Regions from separate parts of the Homo sapiens genome. Here all the other regions are linked to region 4. The links are contacts of gene promoters, found by promoter capture Hi-C in blood cells and fetal thymus (Javierre and others, 2016). All regions are on one chromosome and are shown on one strand. Each heading gives the region's core, a stretch centred on a gene start or on the middle of the fragment in contact. The rest is flanking DNA. Distances are from core to core; before and after follow the strand shown.

Region 1 (2,700 bases), core at 166-2,665, 170 kb after region 4:
GGGAGAAAAGGAAGCTTCTGGTTTGTTTGCTTGTTTTTGTTTTGCTTCCATCCTTTGTTATTTTGGGTGTTCAGCATTCATAGCCAAACCTGATCATCACTTAAACTATTCCCTTTCAAGATCTTAGAATCAGAAAAGTCCTTTTATGACACGTTTTCTGATGTTTACATGTTCTTACTGTTACCAAAAATGTTTCATTATCCTCATTTTGACCTTAATCTTGTCTACCTCTCTCTGTTCCCATGACCGCAGGGCCACCTTGGGGCTCAGCTATCTGCCTGCCCATTATTGATCCCATGTTTGGCCTCTCAGTCATGATTCCAGCTCCTTTGAGAGCTTGGTCTGTGGTCTATCTACCTCTCTCATGAGCCCTTCTGCTTCCGCGGATACACACGCCTTTGGCCTTTCCCACCTTTGCTCTGGGGAAGCCAGTCTTTGATGGAGTAAATTGTAGAGCCAGGCAAATGGTCCCACTGCAAATCTACACCAGTTTGACCTCAACCAGTGCCTCTCTCTAATGAGCAATGATTCTATTCCTTTCTAATTCACTTCTTCTCCATTTCCCACAGTGCCTGATTCACACTTTGCCCTTCTTCCCAAGTAATGATTCCCACCCTACCTCCTTTATTCTCTTTGGAAGACTTTGTTTTCTATCTGACTGAGAAGACCAAGGCCATGGAGGCCCCCCAGCATCCTCTGCTCTGCATCTTCACCTTCTCCTCATCCCCTCCAGGCTAAGAGGAAAAGCCTGCCTGCTCCTCTCTAGAGCACATCCTGTGTTCTTTATCCACCCTTTGGCTTTCCCTGGGATCTCCTTCCATTAATATATCCTCTCTTTTTTATTGACACATTTGAGCATATTCATATATGTACTGGCCATTCATGATATACAGGGAACCCTACAGGCACATCTTTGCAGCAATTATGGTGAACTGTGTGTGCTTTGATAGACATACAGGAGCCATGGAGCATGTGGCAGGGGTCCCACCCATCAGGAGGGTCAGGAGGGCTTCCCAGGAGAACACCCACCCAAGTGCTCCACTTCACTGAGACTGTGCTTGTCACAGTCCTTGGTGACCATGTGTCATGGGTGATTCTCATCTTTAATTCAAGCCCTCAGTAGCATTTTTTTTTCAATCGACATTGGGGCTGTCACTCTTTTTCTGTTGTTTTCTTTGTACTTCTCTGCCACTTTTCCTCAATCTCTTTTGCTGGTTTCTCCTTAACATCCCCATTTTTAAACATTCGAGGGCCCAGGTCTTAGTTCCTAGACCACTTTTCTTTTCACTCCCACTTCCTCAGTGCTCTCATTCCATCCTGCGGCTTTAATGGGATGATGACCCTCAAATTTATATCTTTAGCCAACACCTCCCCTTCGAACTCCAGCTTCATTTTTGACATCTCCATTAGACCATTTAACAGATGGATTCAATTTAATACATCACAGATTGAACTCCTGACTTCCACCACCCCCTCAAATTTCATTTCTGCTGCAATGAAAATGGCCATCTCAGAGAATGGCCCCCCCATCCCGCCGGGTGCTCAGGACAGAAAACCTTGGCATTATCCTTGACTTTTCCCTTTCTCTCACACCCTGCTCTCAAATCATCAGCAAATCCTGTTCACACTGCTTCAAAATATATCCAAAATCTGACCACTTCTCATTGCCTCCACCATCAGACAAAGCTGAAATCATCTCTCATCCAGGTTATGGTGACAACTTCCTGAACTTGTGTCCCGGCTTCCATACATGTCCTCTAGTGCCCTCAGGCCAGCCAGAGGACGAAATCAGCTTATGTTATTCCTCTGCAAGAAATCCTCCAATCACTCCCATCTAATCCAGAGTGGAAGCCCATGTCCGTACACAACCTATCCCAATGGTGACTGAAACAGACATGGGCTCTTGAAACTAGAGGAATAGATCAAGATGTACAAATGTTCACAGAAGTTAAAAATGGAAAATATGAGAAATACTAGATGGTAAGATGCAGGGATATTATAAGACTATTACTGGGATATCAAAGCGATTGCAGGAGGTAAGGACACTTTCCTTGAGGAAGTGATGTTTCATTCATGGCGTACTGGTAAGGTGAAATATTTGTGGTAGTTATTATGCATAAGTAGTGTGTATACCATTGGGGCTGATGTGAAAAATTCTCTCTCTTGGGTAGTGTGGCCATCCTGCTGGCTTTTTCCAGGGCACCTACTGTCCATTTTAGCCATAGAAGCTGGTGCTGGAGTTCACCTCCTTTGCCCAGCTAAGGCTTCTGCACAGTGAGATGAGGCAGGTAGTGACTCCCGCCCCAGGAAACTCTCACTGATCCCTGTGGTCTCCTTGGGCTGCCTCTGTCTGTGCCTTGTGTGTGTTTCACTCTCCCAGCCCCTTTTAGGACCCCCTGAGAGTCCACATTGGGACACCTGGAGCCAGTCTTCACCACATCATGCCCACCAGAGGAGACAAGTTCTCTTTTATGAAGATGGAATTTGCCATCACAAAAGAGGCTTGCCCATCTGCTCTCTTCTTCCTTGCTGAGGGCAATATTGCATAGTTTCCGGAAGGTGGGGCAGGGAAATTTGAGAGGAAAATTTGCCCAACTGACTTCTTTTCATCTATACTTTTACTTCCTTGGGCTCTTAGGTCTCTTACTACCTCTGGTTTTGTGAAGAGCCACCCCCTGGCAAGGTCAGTCATGCCTGGAG
Region 2 (2,700 bases), core at 167-2,666, 220 kb before region 4:
CATTCTTTCTCTAGATTTATTAATGATTCAGTGACGTGCCCGTTGATCTAGTTGCCCTGGAAATAATGCCTCTGTTTGAGATGACATTTCATATCCTTACACTCTGATTCACCATTCAATCATTTACAAATATGAACACTTCTGTGTACAACAAATGGAGGATACAGTAGACAGACATTTCAGTGGAAGAGATACAGATAATTAATATGTAAATGAGTGAAAAAGAGAGATTACTTCAGATGGTGATAAATGGTATGAAAAATTTCCAGCAGGGTAACGAGATTGAGTATTGAGATGGAGGATGGTGTGGGGCTGTAGAAAGGGGGGACTGGGGATATCTCTCTGAGGATGTAGAATCTGAACTGAGCCCTGCATGTGAGGAAGGAGCCAGTCATGATCTTAAAAGTTTCGTTCTCCGCCGGGTGGGGTGGCTCACACCTGTAATCCCGGCGCTTTGGGAGGCTGAGGTGGGCGGATCACCTGAGGTCGGGAGTTTGAGACCAGCCTGACCAACATGGGGAAACCCCGTCTCTACTAAAAATACAAAATTAGCCAGGCGTGGTGGCACATGCCTGTAATCCCAGCTACTAGGGAGGCTGAGGCAGAAGAATCGCTTGAGCCCGGGAGGTGGAGGTTGCAGTGAGCCGAGATTGCGCCATTGCACTCCAGCCTGGGCAACAAGAGCGAAACTCCATCTCAAAAAAAAAAAGTTTCGTTCTCAGAGGAAACACTTCACGCCTATCCTGTGAAGTGGAAGTTCATTGCTTGTCTCCAGAGAGACAATGGTATAAATTAGGCAGCTATGGTTGCCGTAGTGTTGCTGGTATTGGGGATTAAGTACATGGCGATTAAATGGTCATGTGGCCGTGCTTTCCAACAAAAATTCCAGACACATCGTCTTACATGTAGCATGAGGACTGGAAATATTTGAAATCAGGGTTGTCTTGGACTTTCCAAGGCACATGATTACCATAATTAACAGGCTACAGAGGGCTGGCCTGGGCCTGACCCCACGCTCCACACTGTTGATATGGAAACTGTTCCCAGTTTCTAAAAAGCCAAATAACAGGTGAACTTTTGGAATAAAATCACTTGCCTTTTGGAACCATATTTCTTTTCCCCAACAACATTACATGTTCTTTCCTCAGCAAAAAGTCTGAGTTGTACACATTTTTGAATCCCTCAAAGCATTTAGCAGAGTGCTGGGCATACGGAAGACAGCAGGATCCCGTGGCTTTGCCTGAAACGCGGAACCTGGTCTTGACTTTTGAGTGACTGAGCCCTCCTGGTGCCCGCACTCTGGCCGGGAGTGCCAAGCAGCGTTCTCCCTCCCGCCGCACGGGGGCACAATGGGAAGCCTGCACAGTGAGGAAGAGCGGCTGGAGCCGGTCTTGTGCCGGGGAGGTCGCTGCTCCCAGAATGCACCTGGCATCAACACGGCGGCGGCGGCGGCGGCTTCCAACAGGCTCTGGGGCGCCGAGCGGACAGGAACGCAGCACGGGGGCTCCGAGGCGGGGTCTGGGTGTTGAGGGGCGACTGGAGCCATGGCGGAGTCGGCGCCTGCTCGGGTAAAGAGGCACCGGCGCGCTGGCTCGAGGGCGCGTTGGGGATGGCGGAGTCCCCTGCCGGGGGCGGGGCTTCGCGGTTTGGACGCCGCCGGGGTCTTGGTTTCCCGGGGCTGCCGTTGGCGCGGGTGAACGCGGACCCTCCTCTTCGCGACCCCAGTGCTCTGCCCTTTTTTCCCTCCGCTTCCTTCTGCAGCGGGGTCGGAGCCTCGGCGCCGTGCGCCCTTGCCCAGAAACTTCTCTGACGCTTGCTTTAGGTTGGTGGATTTGTGACCCTGCCCACACATTTTCTCTTTCGTGCCAAAAGAGCCCGTTCCCAGGTTGGAGTGTTTCCAGATTGGAAACGGTCTCCGTCGCTACGAGTGAGCTCTCCCGCTGCCCGGGAGACCCCAGGACTTGCCTCTCTGCGACCACCTCCTCTTCGGTCCGATGTGTTGTCGGTTTTTCCAGTGCTGCAGATTTCTGTCTGGGGGTTGCAGCCACAGGTTGAAGTCAGCCTGGGCTGCTTCTCCTTGGGGACGGATGTTATCTACAGTGCAGTTGCTGCATTTTGTTTGTAGAGCTGCCCAAACTCTCTCCTTCACCCCCCCCCCAACACCCCCCTCCCAGCCCACCGACCATCCCCATTCTGGGAATGTCAAGATACGGAGTTTGGTGTGAGGAAAATCCTATTTGTGGAGTCACGAAGCTTTCAGCTGTCCATTTGGGTGATTTTAGGCAACTGTGTTCGCTTCTCTGGGTCTCTTTCGTTTTCTTAACTGTAAATCGAGAGTGTTGGAGTAGTTGCTAGATGATCTCCAAGGCTTTAAGTTTCCTTCCAGCTCCGACATTCTCATACTGTTCCCATACTGTTTCAAAGTAGTGGTTAATTTAACAACACCAGAGGGTTTGCAACGGAAGGGGCAGCTGGAATTGAATTGACTTTTAATGAAGTGTTCCTTGGTCTAGAAACACTTCGAGAATCATGTTAGATCTTTGTGAGAATGGAGGGCTAAGGAAATTCTGTGGGGAAAATTTGACCATGAGCAGGGTGCGCTATATTTGATTCTTGTAGAAAGTGCGTTAAGAACTAAGAACGGAGAGATTGGGAGACTTAGAGAACACAGTATTTGCTTTCAAGGAAGTTAACAGTTGA
Region 3 (2,700 bases), core at 147-2,646, 210 kb before region 4:
CCCTACAGCTGCACTGAGTGTGAGAAGAGCTTTGTCCAGAAGCAGCACCTCCTGCAGCACCAGAAGATCCACCAGCGGGAGCGGGGTGGGCTGGCCCTGGAGCCCGGAAGGCCCAATGGCCTGCTTTAAGGGTGCAGCCCCTCGCCCGTCTGGGGGATGGAGGGGGGTGGCATTGGTTCCCCCGAAGAGACACTGCAGTCAGGGACTGAGTTCTTCCTGAGGGCAGTTGTTTGTGATTGCCTTCCCTTGTCCCAGTACCAAGCCAAGCCCAAAGGCTGTCCTGAAAACCCTGTGGAAGAAGAGTCCAGGCCAGGTCTTCATCCTGCTGCCAAGTTTGCTGTTTCTTGGCACCTTCAGGTCTCTGGTTTTCTCATTCATGCCAATGCTTGTGGGCTGGGGTTGGCGTTCTGACCCCACAGGGACTGGTGGCTGGTTCCAGGGCTCGTCCCGGCATTTCATGTCTTCCCACGGGGTTGAGTCGGGCCATAGGGGTGAGCAGCTGCCTGGAAGAGTTCTGGGAAGTATAACCCTCCATTTTTTCTTGTTTTATAATCTCTTTGTTTAATAATAAGTAGAAGAAATAATTTAAATGAACTGCTTAGCCCTGCTCTGAAGAACCTTTTTTGGAATTAGATTTTAGTTGATTTTTTAAAGAATACAGCCCAACACTTGTTTTTTACATTTTAAGAGTTGTAGAAGTTGTTCCTAACTTGGGGACTGGACCTACCCTCTAGGAGGGAGTTGTTAATGGGGCTCTTTTAGCCCACTGATGCTTACTTAGGCCGGAGAGCAGGGGACACGGTGCTAGGTTCCCTCGTGCAGTGCCTGGTGCTCTCAAATTGTCTCAAAAGGACCAAGAGGAAAAGAGTCGGAGGGGTAGACCCTGCAGCCCTGTTGAGAAGAAAGATTCCAGTGAAGTTGCTGATGGTATGGCTGTGGTCTGGGACTTGCGGTGTCTCGGCATACCCCTCTCCTCTTCCCACCTCCTCCTGGCTATGTTCTGCAGCCTCCCAGAGTAGAAAACTACTTTGTTACTTAAGGTTGTTCACCTTGTACCAGTGGTTATTTGAGTTTGTTCCTATTACACCAATCCTTACTTGAGGTGGTTCGGATTACAGTTTCCAAATGCATTCTGGGATTGCCTATTCCAGAGAGGGTACAGAAAAAGCACACAGATGGCTTGTCTCAGGAGTGTTGAATGTGTGCCCCGCTGCTGTCTGGGGGGATGGGAGTGGGCTCTGGGGTCATATGTGAACATCCCCTTGGATGATTTGCGGTTGCTTAGAATAAAACTTGCTACTAGCAAAAGAAAAAAAAAAAGTTCATACTGGATGTTTTTCTCCGTTTGTCAAGAACACTCTCCTGGGGCCAAGGTGGAGGAGAGGCACCTGACCTGGAGTGATGACAGGGAAGGACTGATGGCACAGCCTAACCTGCACTTTTACTTAAACCTAGGACAGAAGACAAGATGTGGCATGGGTGAAAATTTTCAGGGGACTGTACTTATGATGGTGGAGAGCTGGAGACAGTCTGGGTGATGGCTATTGGGAGGTAGAAAGAGTAGGTGAAATGTGGGTACCCCAGGGAGTGCCAGGTAGCTGTTACGAGCATTGGCTTAGATATATGCGTAGCCATCTGGATCCATCTTAAACACAATGCCGAGGGGAAAAGGTAAGAAATTGAGATCTATAATGTAACACCATTTATATAAATTAAAAATGCATGTACACAAAACATTTTGTAAGAACACTTGGGACCAAAGGAGACCCGTTAAAAGACATTACAGTTTTCCACGGGGAGAGCGAGCAAATAAGTAGAAGGAAACTTGGCTTGCTGTAAGGCAGGGGTCCCCAACCTTTTTGGCACCAGGACTGGTTTCGTGGAAGACAGGTTTTCCACAGACAGTGGTGGGGGACGGGATGGTTTTGGAATGAAACTGTTCCACCTCAGATCATCAGGCGTTAGATTCTCATAAGGAGCGCACAACCTAGATCCCTCGCGAGCGCAGTTCACAATAGGGTTCATTCTATGAGAATCTAATGCCGCCGCTGATCTGACAGGAGGCAGAGCTAACCTGCTGTGTGGCCTGATTCCTAACAGGCCATGGACCAGTACTGATCCACAGTCCAGGGGTTGAGGCCTCCTGCTATAAGGTATGGGATTGTCTTGTTACAGAAACAACATGGAGGGAATCCTTGTAGGGCTGGCGCTGTGTGAGGTGGGTAGGTAGCTTCGTCAGGAAAACCTTTGCAGTTTCTTTCCTGTTTCTTCTGCAGTTTTTTCTTACCCTCAAGCCTTTGCCTTATAGACACCCCCTCTGTCCTGTCCTTAGTTACTCTTACTTCCCAATTGTTGAGCGTTTTAATGTGAGCAGCCTTGGGCCTTGTGTTGTGGGGAAAAGCGAAGCACAAAATATGGTCCTACTTCTCCAATTAAGTTAAGTTTTCCTTGAGGCTGGGAAATAATTGTATCAAGCAATTGGACTCCTGCTGACACTTGTTGAATACTTGTGTGCTAGGCACTATTCAAATTATTTCCATGAAAACAAATCCTTATAGTTTTGGGTGGTGAGCATGATTTTACCTAGTTTTCCGTATGAGATGTGGGAGGAGGCCTGAGAAGTGAAGTAAGGTGGCAGAGGTGATGGAAACCCAGAGCATCTTGCTTCCGAGCCACACACTTGGCTGTGGGGTGGTGGTG
Region 4 (2,700 bases), core at 136-2,635:
GCAGGGCGGGTCGCCGCCAGGTGTCTGTGCCTCAGTGTCTCCGTTCTGCGAAATGGGAGAGCCGCGTCAGCGCCGCGCCCGGGCCGGGGAAGGCTCCGCGGGGCCGAGCTCTGCGGAAAACGTGCCGGCGGCTACCCCGACGGACGCAGCGCGGGCCCCGCAGGGAGCGAGCGCGCCTCCGGGCGCCCCACCTCGGGGCCGCGTGTGTGCCGGGCCGGGCGTGAGAGCAGCCTCCCTCGCACGGACGGCGGCGAGGCCCGTAGCCCTCCCCCACCGCCCGGGTCAAGACGCGCGGGCCCCCTCCAGGGCGCCCCCACCCCCCGCGCCAACGTCGTAGCGTTTCTGCCCCTTACCGAGATCCCAGGCCGGGCCGCCGAGCCCGGGACACGCAGGCCGTCCCCGGGGCCCCGAGGCCGCGCGTCCGTGCGCGCGCGGGCCGCCCTCACAGGAGCCGGGGCCGCCTCGGCCATGGCCCTGCGCTGTCCGGCCCGGGCCCCCGGAGTCGCCGCCGCTACTGCCGCCGCCGCTACTGCGCGCGGCCCCACGCAGGCCCGGCCGCCCGGCGCTCTCCGCAGGCGGCGCCGGCCCAGCCCTGTCTTCCCCGCCGGGGCTCGCGCGCGGCCGTCGGGCCCCGGCCTGCTCGGGGCGCGCGGGGCGAGCGGGCGCGGGGTCGCGGAGCCCGAGCGGCGGCGTCGGAGCTGGGCGCGCGGCTGTGCGGGCGGCCCGGCCGGCTGCGTCCCGGCGGCGAGCTGGGCCCCGGCCCTCAACGGCGGCCCCCGGCCCGCGCGCCGCCCCTCTGCGGCCGCGGCTGGGACCCCAGCTCCGGCCCCGGCCCCGGCTGCGAGCTGCGCTGCCGTCCCGGCGCCTCTTTAGCAGGGGAGCTGCACAGCAGCTGCCATGTTGCTACAAACTGCATCCTGGGAGGCATGTCCCTCTCAGGCCGTTTAAAGAGAAACACTCCGAGGCTCGTCGGAGGCTGCCGGAACCCAGACAGCTCCATCTACAGCCGGTAGGAGCGAACAGTGTCGAGCGAGCCGCCCGGCGGCGACGGACACGCCCTGAGCCCGGGCCAGCCCGTCGTGGAGCCCGGGCCGAACCGCCGGGGCCTCCCACCCTCCAGGACCCTCCGGCCTCTCACCTGGGGTCCTCGCCTGCCCAGGCACCCTCGGGCGAGGCCGGGAGGCGCGCGGGCGGAGGCGCAGTCGGAGCGCGCAGCCCAGGCGACGTGCTGGGGTCTGGAGGCGGCTTGATTGGCTCCGACAGCCTTCCTCCCGCCGATCCCCTGCGCCTCTCACACCCAGAACCCGGGGTCGTTCCCTTTCAAAACCTGCGCTCACAAAGGGATCTAAGAAACCCGTCACACCAGAGAAAGCCCGGAGTTCATGTGACCAGCTCAGTGCAGCCCGGGTTCCAGGGACGCGGGCTGTGCTTCCAAGGGGAGCCAGGGGGTTGGGTGCTTTTGTGAAATGCCCGAGTGTTGTTTTCGACATGAAAGGACCGAATTCCTAGAATCAGACCCTGCTGGGGCTGGAAGTGGCCAGACGGGTCATTTAGGAGGAAACTGAGGCCGAGTGGGCAGCGACTTGTTTACCCTCAGTCACAGTATGAATGAATGCTCTTTGTAACCATGAGAAGTCCCAAAAGAAATGCAGGAGCTTAGAGTTGAGAACTCCCCTTCCTGGACAGGTCCACTTAAACATGTATTAATTGAATACCTACGAGGTGGCGAGAACTGGGGATGAATTGAAAAGGAAAAAAAAAGAAGAAACTATAGGCAGGCGTCCTGGTTACTAGCGATGAAGCCCAACTGGAACTAACTTAAGTGAGGGAAGACGGCGGGGGGGAGCAGAGGACATTGTGTTTACCTAATGGAACCCCAGGAGTGGAGCTGGTCTTGGAAGGCAACAGGACTCAGTATGCTGGCAGCTCAGATAATGGAAAGTTATGGCCAGACGTGGTGGCTCATGCCTGTAATCCCAGCACTTTGGGAGGCTGAGGTGGGCAGATCACGAGGTCAAGAGATCGAGACCAACCTGGCTAACGTGATGAAACCCTGTCTCTACTAAAAATACCAAAATTAGCTGGACGTGGTGGCGCGGCCCTGTAGTCCCAGCTACTTGGGAGGCTGAGGCAGGAGAATCTCTTGAACCCGGGAGGCAGAGGTTGCAGTGAGCCGAGATCGCCCCACTGCACTCCAGCCTAGGGGACAGATCAAGACTCCGTCTCAAAAAACAAAAAAAAGGAAAGTTACAGATAGAGGTAAGGCCAGAGCTATGCATCCTGTCCCCTCCCTTCCCGGAGGCTAGAGTTCTCACCCAGGTCTTTATGCATTAACTAACATGTGTGCATTCGTAAACAATGCACACTACTGGTTTTGGTATTTTTACATTTTATGTGAATGATATTATCCAGTCCCTATCCTGTTGCAACTTGCTTTTTTCCATGGGTCATTTTGTTTTTGAGATACAGACATGTTTAAACAAGAATATCTGGTTCATTCATTTTACCCACAATATAGTATTTCATTGAATACATAAACTACAGTTTACGTTCCATTCCCCCTAGAGGAATGAGAACAAACCTGCTGCCAGCGACATCTGCATGCATGTCTCATTGTGCACTGCTAAAGTGCGTCTCTAGAGACGCCTAGACATGGGACTCTGGATGGCAAGAGCACCTTCATCTTTCCCCGGCTTCCCG
Region 5 (2,700 bases), core at 186-2,685, 250 kb after region 4:
GGTTCATGCCATTCTCCTGCCTCAGCCTCCTGAGTAGCTGGGACTACAGGCACCCACCACCACACCCAGCTAATTTTTAAAATTTTGTATTTTTAGTAGAGACGGGGTTTCACCATGTTGGCCAGGCTGGTCTCGAACTCCTCACCTCGTGATCCACTTGCCTCGGCCTCCCAAAGTGCTGGGATTCCAGGTATGAGCCACCATGCCCAGCTTGGGAAGAGGCAATATTAAAAGATATAATAGCTGAGAATTTTCCAGACTTGTACAAAGATGTGACACCTCAGATTTAGGACTCACGAGTTCCAAGAAAGATAAATAAAAGATCCATACCTAGCCACATTGCAGTGAAACTTCATGATACCACAGATAAAGAGATTTTTTTTTTTTTTTAGATGGAGTTTTGCTCTTGTTGCCCAGGCTAGAGTGCAATGGTACGATCTCTGCTCACTGCAACCTCTGCCTCCTGGATTCAAGTGATTCTCCTGCCTTAGCCTCCGAGTAGCTGGTATTACAAGCATGCACCACCATGCCTGGCTAATTTTTTTTGTATTTTTAGTAGAGTCGGGGTTTCTCCAGGTTGGTCAGGCTGGTCTCAAACTCCTGACCTCAGGTGATCCTCCCGCTTCAGCCTCCCAAAATGCTGGGATTACAGGTGTGAGCCACCATGCCCGGCCAAACAGATGATTTTAAATGAAGCCAGAGAAGTTAAATCATATGCAAAGGAATAATTAGACTGACAGCAGACTTTTCAATAGCAACAATGAAAGTCAGGAGACAATGGAATAAAATATTAGAAGTGTGAAACAGTTCTCTCCCTGGCTAAAGTATCATTCAGGAGTGAGAAAAATGTAAGACATTTTATATAACTGAAAGTATCCACTTCTAAAATATCCTTGCTGAAATAAATTTTAAAAGTTCTGCTTCAGGAAGAACATTGAACCCAGAAGGAAGAAGAAAGAGGCAAGAAAAAAGAGTGAACAAAGATAGTGGTAAGCACATTGGTAAATCTAAACAGCATAGATTGTATAAAACAAAAACAATGACTTCAAATATCAGGAGAGAGTCTTAAAAACAAGATGTAACTAAAAAGAACAATAATTACACACAAGACAGAAGGGGAAGAGTGTGATTAAACTCATATTCAAAAAGCTTTCTATCATTTGCGAGAAGATCAGAAGTAGTAATATTAGATTCTATTAAACCAAATATGTGTGTAAAATTACAGAGTAACCCCCAAATGAATAAAAAAGGAAAGCATAACTTTCAAATCAGTAGATTCATGATTATGATAGAGATTGTCAGACTGGATTCAGCAGCAACAACAAAATCTAGCTACATGCTCTTATATGACACACATCTGAAACATAAATATACACAAAGTTTGAAAGTAAAAGGACAGGAAAAGATATATCAAAGAAATACTTGCCAAAATAAAGTTAGTGTAGCTGCAGCAATATCAAACAAAATGGATTATAGACAAAGACTATTATTAGGGATAGTGTTACTTTCTAATAATAGAATGAACAATTCTCCAGGAAAATACTACAATTCTAAATTTGTAAGCACACAGCCTCCAAACACATGAAGCGAAAATTCTCACAAATTCAGGGAGAAATTGACAAATGCACAAACTTGATATGAGATTTTAACACCTCTTTAGTAACTGATAGTTCCAAATGCAAAAAGATGATAAACTATAGAAGGCATAAACCACATGATTGATAAGCTTGATTTTACAGCTCTAACTAGATCCTACACCAATATTAGAATATATGTACTCTTTTAGGCAAACATGGAACATTTTCAAACATCTATTGCACACTTGGCCACAAAGCAGTCTCAGAAAATTCTAAAAAATCAACATCACTTACTACATTCTCTGACTATAAGGCAAAACTCAAAAACAAAATAACTCATAAAAAGATTCGTATTTGGAAATTAAAAAGTACTTTTAAATAATCTCATGGATGGAAAAAGAAATAATAATGAAAATCAGAAAATATTTTAAAGTTGCAGCCATTTTCACATGGAGGACTGGCCAGCACAATTTGCCTTTAGATTCATTTGGGAAAAGTGCCGACTAGTTCACCAAAAGTCAATTCACAGAATGACCAGATAGCCAAAAGCCAAATATGGTAAAAGCTAAACCACTGAATATCAACTTGCTAAACAACCAATCTGAATTATTGAAATTTTTTTTTTTTTTTTTTGAGACAGGGTCTTGCTCTGTCACCCAGGCTGGAGTGCTGTGGTGTGATCTTGGCTCACTGCAACCCCCCTCTGCCTCCTGGGCTCAAGAGATTCTCCCACCTCAGCCTTCCAAGCAGCTGGGACTACAGGGGTACACCACTGCACCTGGCTAATTTTTGCATTTTTTGTAGAGATGGGGTTTCATCATGTTGCCTAGGCTGGTTTGGAACTCCCAGGCCCAAGCAATTCACCAGCCTTGGCCTCCCAAAGTGCTGGGATTACAGGTGTGAGCCACCGTGCCTGGCCCCAGCCAAGGAATTTTTAAAGATGTGTTTCAGCTCCACTCCTGCCTTTGTCTGTGTCCAGAGCCATCCAATAAACCTGGTTCAGGACAGGTCTTCACAACTATTTTTTAACGCACACACACGGGCTGAGGTAAATACAGGTCTACAGGGTCAAAGGCGCAACTAAAATTTGGGGGATAGGGGTGCCAGGAAGTGTCTCCATAAT

What was found. Contacts are between HindIII fragments. The CHiCAGO score rates a contact against its expected background, and 5 or more counts as called.
Region 1: a fragment that was not itself captured here is called in contact with the fragment with the promoter of ZNF777 in region 4 in 2 of 17 cell types (naive B cells and neutrophils); the score reaches 6.1 in naive B cells.
Region 2: a contact is called between the fragment with the promoter of ZNF212 here and the fragment with the promoter of ZNF777 in region 4, in 7 of 17 cell types (naive CD4 T cells, total CD4 T cells, non-activated CD4 T cells and 4 more). The highest score is 8.5, in naive CD4 T cells.
Region 3: a fragment that was not itself captured here is called in contact with the fragment with the promoter of ZNF777 in region 4 in 5 of 17 cell types (total CD8 T cells, naive CD8 T cells, naive CD4 T cells and 2 more); the score reaches 6.9 in total CD8 T cells.
Region 5: a contact is called between a fragment that was not itself captured here and the fragment with the promoter of ZNF777 in region 4, in 1 of 17 cell types (naive B cells). The highest score is 5.5, in naive B cells.

Annotation. Positions count from the first base shown.
Region 1 is chr7:149,631,101-149,633,800 of GRCh38, forward strand. No RefSeq gene overlaps it. Among named protein-coding and RNA genes, the nearest start is that of TRC-GCA9-3, 3.2 kb to the right of the region's middle. The HindIII fragment of the contact is 2,807 bases long and covers 13-2,700 here.
Region 2 is chr7:149,238,235-149,240,934 of GRCh38, forward strand. It overlaps ZNF212 (zinc finger protein 212), which reads left to right and starts at 1,417. Exons shown (of 5, transcript NM_012256.4): 1 at 1,417-1,568. The coding sequence starts at 1,545. RefSeq lists an enhancer at 1,184-1,478. The HindIII fragment of the contact is 6,599 bases long and covers 1-2,251 here.
Region 3 is chr7:149,254,287-149,256,986 of GRCh38, forward strand. It overlaps ZNF212 (zinc finger protein 212), which reads left to right. Exons shown (of 5, transcript NM_012256.4): 5 at 1-1,320. The coding sequence ends at 129. LOC124901769 (a long non-coding RNA gene) reads right to left here. Exons shown (of 2, transcript XR_007060582.1): 2 at 1,688-2,700. Among named protein-coding and RNA genes, the nearest start is that of ZNF783, 6.6 kb to the right of the region's middle. The HindIII fragment of the contact is 4,757 bases long and covers 1-2,700 here.
Region 4 is chr7:149,459,677-149,462,376 of GRCh38, forward strand. It overlaps ZNF777 (zinc finger protein 777), which reads right to left and starts at 1,386. Exons shown (of 6, transcript NM_015694.3): 1 at 1,139-1,386. RefSeq lists silencers at 47-406, 417-496, 787-856, 1,027-1,366. The HindIII fragment of the contact is 6,109 bases long and covers 1-2,700 here.
Region 5 is chr7:149,710,262-149,712,961 of GRCh38, forward strand. No RefSeq gene overlaps it. Among named protein-coding and RNA genes, the nearest start is that of KRABD3, 3.3 kb to the right of the region's middle. The HindIII fragment of the contact is 577 bases long and covers 1,148-1,724 here.